Regions from separate parts of the Homo sapiens genome. Here region 1 is linked to region 2. Evidence: promoter capture Hi-C in 16 types of primary human blood cells and fetal thymus (Javierre and others, 2016). All regions are on one chromosome and are shown on one strand. The core of a region is centred on a gene start or on the middle of the fragment in contact, and the rest is flanking DNA. Distances in the headings are between cores, read along the strand shown. Region 1 has its middle 20 kb from the start of ZNF131. Region 2 holds the start of NNT (nicotinamide nucleotide transhydrogenase).

What was found. Contacts are between HindIII fragments. The CHiCAGO score rates a contact against its expected background, and 5 or more counts as called.
Region 1: a contact is called between a fragment that was not itself captured here and the fragment with the promoter of NNT in region 2, in 4 of 17 cell types (non-activated CD4 T cells, naive CD4 T cells, activated CD4 T cells and 1 more). The highest score is 5.6, in non-activated CD4 T cells.

Annotation. Positions count from the first base shown.
Region 1 is chr5:43,099,287-43,102,785 of GRCh38, forward strand. No RefSeq gene overlaps it. Among named protein-coding and RNA genes, the nearest start is that of ZNF131, 20 kb to the right of the region's middle. The HindIII fragment of the contact is 1,560 bases long and covers 671-2,230 here.
Region 2 is chr5:43,601,199-43,604,707 of GRCh38, forward strand. NNT (nicotinamide nucleotide transhydrogenase) reads left to right here and starts at 1,982. Exons shown (of 22, transcript NM_182977.3): 1 at 1,982-2,096. It overlaps NNT-AS1 (NNT antisense RNA 1), which reads right to left and starts at 2,032. Exons shown (of 3, transcript NR_073113.1): 1 at 1,580-2,032. RefSeq lists an enhancer at 6-175, a cis regulatory region at 91 and silencers at 1,330-1,549, 1,813-1,902, 2,023-2,242. The HindIII fragment of the contact is 7,409 bases long and covers 234-3,509 here.

The DNA of each region.
Region 1 (3,499 bases), core at 201-2,700, 500 kb before region 2:
CTTTGGGAGGCCAAGGTGGGCAGATCACCTGAGGTCAGGAGTTCGAGACCGGCCTGGCCAATATGGTGAAACCCTGTCTCTACCAAAAATACAAAAAAAAAAAAAAATTACCTGGGCTTGGTGGGGGGTGCCTGTAATCCCAGGTACTCAGGAGGCTGAGACAGGAGAATTGCTTGAACCCGAGAGGCAGAGGCGGCAGTGAGCCGAGAACGCGCCATTGCACTCTAGCCCGGGCGACAAGAGTGAAACTCCATCTCAAAAACAAAAACAAAAAGAAAAACAAACAAACAAACAAACAAAAAAACAGTAGAAAACCTAATGAGAAACCATGGCACAGGAAAACAGAATAGCAGAACGGTCAGAGGAAGCATAGCACTAGAAGTTTACCTATTTGAAAGATTTATGAGACACTTAAGACAGAAGAGCTCTGCCTGTCTGGTTAAAATGGTGGGACAGACAAGATTTATTTGAGCTCAGCAGCACTTGAAGTCCACTGGAGAGGTGTAGAGCAGCTAGCCCATGTTATGGTTGCAATGGAAAAAAGTCAATAGGGTGAGAATCAAGAATGGATCCATCTTGTGGATGATGACATCATTCAGCAACAAGGTACAATTGCTACAATAGAGGATCATATTTCCAAGCCAGGTCCAAAGAGGCATCAGGGCTGTCAAGCTTAGGTATAAATGTTGACAGAATCTTCCTTTGGATTACCTAAGGCTCTGAATTTCTGGGAAGATCTTGATGCCCTCTAACCCCAGCAAATTGATGCTAGCTATACATTGAATCTGACAGTGGCAGCTCAAACAGATTTTAAACACATCTTGTATGTATCCATTCATACACATTTACATATTAAAAACATGTCTTCAAGTTTGAGCTTTCTTGGTGTATCTCAGGTACCTTTTGACATGGTTCTCTTTTTATTGTATGTACTAATAGAGTGAGAACCTACTTATTACTTGGGGGCTGCACCAAGCCATTCATGATAGCTCGACCCCCATGACCCAAACACCTCCCTTTAGGTCCCACTTCCAATATTATCAAAATCTTTTTTATTTTATTTATTTATTTATTTATTTATTTATTTTTTGAGATGGAGTCTTACTCTGTTGCCCAGGCTGGAGTGCAGTGGCGCGATCTTGGCTCACTGCAAGCTCCACCTCCTGGGTTCATGCCATTCTCCCGCCTCAGCCTCCCAAGTAGCTGGGACTACAGGTGCCCGCCACCACGCCTGGGTAATTTTGTGTGTGTGTGTGTGTGTGTGTGTGTATTTTTAGTAGGGACGAGGTTTCACTGTGTTAGCCAAGATGGTCTTGATCTCCTGACCTTGTGATCCGCCCGCCTCAGCCTCCCAAAGTGCTGGGATTACAGGTGTGAGCCACCGCGCCTGGCCTTTTTTATTTTTATCAAGACAGGGGTCTCTCTGTGTTGCCCAGGCTGGTCTTGAACTCCTGGCCACAAGCTATCCTCCCACCTTGGCTTCCCAAAGTGCTGGGATTACAGGTGTAAGCCACTGCTCTGTCCCGAACCAAATTTCAACATGAGATTTGGAGGGGGACAAATATTCAAACAATATCATTGAGATTAAAAATTATTAGAGAAGTTTCAGGGTTAGAGCCATGCTTCAGTTTAATCCTCAGTATAAGAATTATGTAGAACTAAGACAAAATGATGAGGAAAAGATTGCTAGAATAATAAGGAATTGTTATATATCATGGAAATATTGACACAAAACTATCAAAAATAATTGAGGGCCGGGTGTGGAGGCTCATGCCTGTAATCCCAGTACTTTAGGAGGCCGAGGCAGGTGGATCACAAGGTCAGCAGATTGAGACCATCCTGGCTAACACGGTGAAACCCCGTCTCTACTAAAAATACAAAAAATTAGCTGGGTGTGGTGGCAGGCACCTGTAGTCCCAGCTACTCAGGAGGCTGAGGCAGGAGAATGGTGTGAACCTTGGAGGTGGAGCTTGCAGTGAGCCGAGATGGCGCCACTGCAGTCTAGCCTGGGTGACAGAGCAAGACTCTGTCTCAAAATAAATAAATAAAAAATAATAATTATTGAAGCTGGACGTGGTGGATCATGCCTGTAATCCCAACACTTTGGGAAACCAAGGCAAATCTTTGGTTTCTGATGACCCAGAAGTGTAAAAGTACAAAACTGGAAGACTATTGCATCCTTCTCCTCACTCTCAGCACAGATGTATTGTTTCACCATCTAGGAGCTTGAAGCTTTGAAGGACTGTAAGTTTATCTGCATGCAAGAGCAGAGATCCCAGGTTACTGCCTGCCTGCACAGGACAGAAGTCTGGACAGCTTCCATGTGCTGAGTGATACTCAGAGAACACCCAGTTTTGCTAAGATGGGAACTACTCTGTGTGCAGGGAAATGACTGGGACTCAGAGACTTTCTCATTGCCATGAGCATTTTGGAAGGCTGTCCAGACAGGCCTGTCTGTGGACAGATGTCCCAGTTTCAAGTGCCTTCAAGGGAAGTGAGTGCTACAAACAATGTGGCTGAGTGAGACTAAGAAAAGCCAGAAGACACAAGAGCTGACAGACATGAGAGACTAGGGTCATGTTGTCCATATGGACAGGGATCCTGGAACTCTGCCCTTCTCTAAAGGCTTTTCTTTCCTACTTAACATCCTGCCCTCTCAGCACTGGTGCTATAGCCACCAGCCTGCCCAATGCTGAGTTCTTCTTACTGCACATGCCACCTCTTGGATATCTTTCAAATCATGTATCCCATTTTATTTCCAAGGGCTTAATCATTTTGGAATTTGCAGTTGCACTCTAACTTATTTTTTCCCAATCCTTTATTGAAAAGCACATTTGAGCCAGGCGCAGTGGCTCACACCTGTAATCCCAGCTCTTTGGGAGGCCGAGGCGGGCGGATCACAAGGTCAGGAGTTCCAGACTAGCCTGGCCAACATGGTGAAACCCCGTCTCTACTAAAAATACAAAAATTAGCTGGGCATGGTGGCAGGCGCCTGTAATCCCAGCTACTCGGGAGGCTGAGGCAGGAGAATCGTTTGAACCCAGGAGGTGGAGGTTGCAGTGAGCTGAGATACCGCCATTGCACTCTAGCCTGGGCGACAGGGCGAGACTCCACCTCAAAAAAAAAAAAAAAAAGGAGAAAGAAAGAAAGAAAAAAATGGCCGGGCGCAGTGGCTCACACCTGTAATCCCAGTAGATTACAGTAGTAATCAGTAGTAGAAGAAGTGTGACAATTCTAAATAGATCTAGAAGCAAAGTTCTTTAGTACATTAGTACATGTCATTCATGAAGAGAGTTTTTCTAATTGAAAAATCTTTAAGTCATTCAGAAGAATAAAACTGAAAATGTTTCCAATAACTGAGCCCTAGAAGCTCTTAGGTCTGAAGGGTTCAGTCCCAGTGAAGTCCACAAGGGCAATATGAGGGCCCTCACTGGGGTGTCTCTGCATGGGGAAGCAGGTAGTACTGTGAGCCAGGAGCAAGTCTGGGGTTCCTTTCCTT
Region 2 (3,509 bases), core at 732-3,231:
GTACTATTTTAAGATGAGAGTTTGCAGGTCAAATTAGTCAGGGAGGAAAGAGTAGAAGTCAGAGTGGGAAAGGCCCTTAAAACTTAATAGGGAATATCAAATCTCTACAAAAATTTTATTCAAGACAGTGTCTAAGACTTAGAAGCAACTAACTTAAAAGCAAACTTTTGGAACTTAATCCTATTTTCATTGGGGACTCCGTTTATGAATAATATGCTGTAATTATACGTAGAAGCTTAAGGACTGAAACAGAGCATTCCAAATGACAAATGTTTTCTCCTGAAGAAATGGCACCCAAATTATGTTGTACAAGTAAGCGGAATAAAATAATCATATGCTTGTTATTAAAATTATCATATGCCTAACATTCATGATTTTCAAAAGTGAAAAACAGTATGTTATCTTTGAGTTTGTTTTCATGTGATATAAATTTATAAGCAAGTCAAAATTAAATAATGTACTGAGCATTAATTTAAGCCAGGATTTTTCAGCCTCAGCACTATTGACATTTGGGGCTGGATAATGCTTCGTCGTGAGGGGCTGTGTAGTGTGAGGTGTTCAGTAATATCCCTGGCCCCAACCCATTAGATAGGTCCCCTCTCCAATTGTGACAACCAAAATGTCTCTAGACATTGCCAAATATCCCTCGGAACTAAATTGTCCCCAGTTGGGAACCACGAATTATTAATCCCTAAAAGACAAAGCAGCAACTCCTGACCCCTACAAAAAGTTTTAAATCAATAACTTAGTTTAAAATCCTTACTAAGTGGGATCATTACTAATCTCACTTCATTGTACCTTCAGTATCTGGAAACCGTCCCTATGGTCACACTTACCACGGCTCATTATTATTTTAAAACATGGGGCTGTGTCATTTCCTGTCTGTGAGTTTGGACTGCAGTGGGAATCCATTAGTTGAATGACCTTCTGTGTAGGTTAATCACAAGACAAGTTCTCAAACTAAGGGTTTCCCTGCGGCTCATTTCTTTTTAAAGTTATGGAATACCTGTTCTGCTTATACCTTTTAGATTCATAATTATTTTTCTTGTATCAAAATTTCAATTAATAGAAATAAATGACGTTACTGACACTTCATGATGATTAAGTTTTGGGCAAGTGAACCATTTTACACTCTATTTTTTATTCCTCCCACTTTTAGTCAGAATACACCTGCAGAATAAGTAACAGAACTGTGTGAAAAGAACGACTAGGTCATTACGGTTAATAGTTTTAGAAAAACAGCCGAGGCCTGGTCTGGAAAGCTCACAACCTCCACCCAGATGCTTTCCAGCCTCGGGGATATTCGTACTAGCAGTGACACTAGCCAGCTTCCTCTAGGCTGGCTCTGATGTTGGAAGACAAGCACGCAGATGTGTGTTACTTTTCAAGCCTGGACATCGTTTCTGAGGAATTTAACTCCACCTCTCCTGCCAGAATGGAAAATCAACGCCCCCCATTCCCGCCCTTCACCAACCCCTCTCCGCCTGCCCCTTTCCCTTGGGTCCTCTCTGTTACAGAAGTTCTGATTTTTCCTAGCGAGCTGGAGGAAAGGCAGGTACCCGGAGTGGAGTTATATTACCTGTTTCTTTGTTCTGATGGGACCCCAGAGAGGACATCACGCTTTGTAACTGGTTCTTCAAGGGGAGAAGCAAATGTGTCCCTGAAAACTTCAGCTGCCGCGTTTGGCACCAGGTTTGATTGACAAGGACTGGCGGAGGGAAAGCGCGGAGGCTGGGCTGGGGGCCGCAGGCCGAGGCAGAGACAAAGAGGTTTCGCCTGTCCCCGAGAGTGGAAGGGCCCCTGGGGGTAACTAGCCTTTGAGCTCAAAGGGGCATTTCGTGAGGTCGCCTTTTGGTTCGGAGAGCGCGCGGCGATCGGGTGGAGGGGGCCTGGCGGGAAGAAAGCTGGGGCGGGGAAGGGGCGCGGGCCGAGGTGGGAGCGGAGCTGCAGTCACGTGGCCGCCCGCCGCCGCGGAGTTGGGGCTGTTCTTCCGGGTTGGAGGCGCAGCGCCGCGGGGCCCAAGCCCGGGTCTGCCAGCGCGACGTCCTCTCGCGGCCCTCAGGGCACAGCCCAAGGCTGTCAGCCTCCCGGCCCAGGTGAGCGCGACGGCACTGGCGGGTGCGGGCAGCCGGGGCGCGCGCCTAGGGCGCAGCTGGGAAAGGGGCTCGGGCCTTTCCTGAAGACCACGGCCCTCGCCGGGAGAGAGACCTGTCAAAGAGCAAAGCGGGGCGGGGTCGGCGGTGTCCCGGGCGCAGGGTGCATTGGGGTGTCCGCAGGCCGCAGGCTTAGGTGGGGAAGAAGCACCGTGCCTCTTGGTGTCCCTTTCTCGTCTCCTGCTGGGGCGATGTCGAAGGGAGTGGGCTGGTGGATTTGGGAACTGGGTCCCCGAAGAGGGCAGGGAATGAGGCGGCAGCTGTGCAGGTGCAGATATTTGCAGCTTTGGGGGACAGCGAGAGTCGTACGGGGTCATTTCGGCCCTCAAGATCGGGGGTGGTGGAGAGGGAGGTCATAGAGGACTTTCGATGGGCGGTTCATCCAGAGAGGTGGCAGCTGGATGCCCTTGAGGTATGCTTGACCCTTGAGGGAGTTCGGAGAGGGTGTCCGGCTGGGGACATAGGAGATTGCGAGCACAAATTGTGAGTGTGAGTTGGGGCGGTCTGGCGGTGGTGGGTACAAGTTTCTGGGGCCTAGGCTGGTGAGGAGGAAGAGACAGCGGAGAGGGCGACCTGGGCAGAGCTAGTTCAAACTCAACAGCCGGAATGACTATTTGCAGCCGTGGCCAATCGGCTTCCTAGGGAGGTTATAAATAGCGGTCTCGTGCAGATGCCAGCGGGTGGCAGTTAGTTGCCGAGCAAGGGACGGCACCGGTGGCAGTAGCCGTGACACCAGTGGCTTTGGGTGAGGTCACGGCGCCTGCCAGCCGAAGCTGGCTCAGTAGGGTATTGTGTCCTTGCTGGTATGTCTCGCTTTTAAAAGCGTGACTTGTTTATGGTTGCCGGTGTCCTTTATTCACCCTGTGGCGCCGGCCAGTCCTTAGGTGGTCTGTTTGTCAGGAGTCTTGTAGGACAGACTTATTCGGAGAAGCGCGTGGGGCTTAGGTGCCTACCTACTCTTCTTATTTAAAGTGTGCCCCTTTTCTTCATTGCACCCCTTTTATTTGTAAACCTTGACTTTTTATTAACAGACAGTTTAGGATTGCCTTCTTTCCAGCAGGTGCGCTTAGGCTGCTTACCTTGGTGATAGAATCAGTTTTCCACAAGGCTACACAAACATTTCCTTTTCAAAGGAAATTTTCCGAAAATCCTTGGAAAATGTGCTCAATAGGTACTTAGGCTTAAGGTCACCTAGCCCTATTCATTCAGTCAAAAATACTGACTTCCTCTGTGTTGTGCAAAGCACTGGGGGAGAGTAATACCAAAGTGAATATAACAGCTGATAAGGATATTCTCAGTCCTGGCAACAACCCTGAGAGGTAGGTGCTGTTATTTTATTTTTTCAAGTCTCGCTCT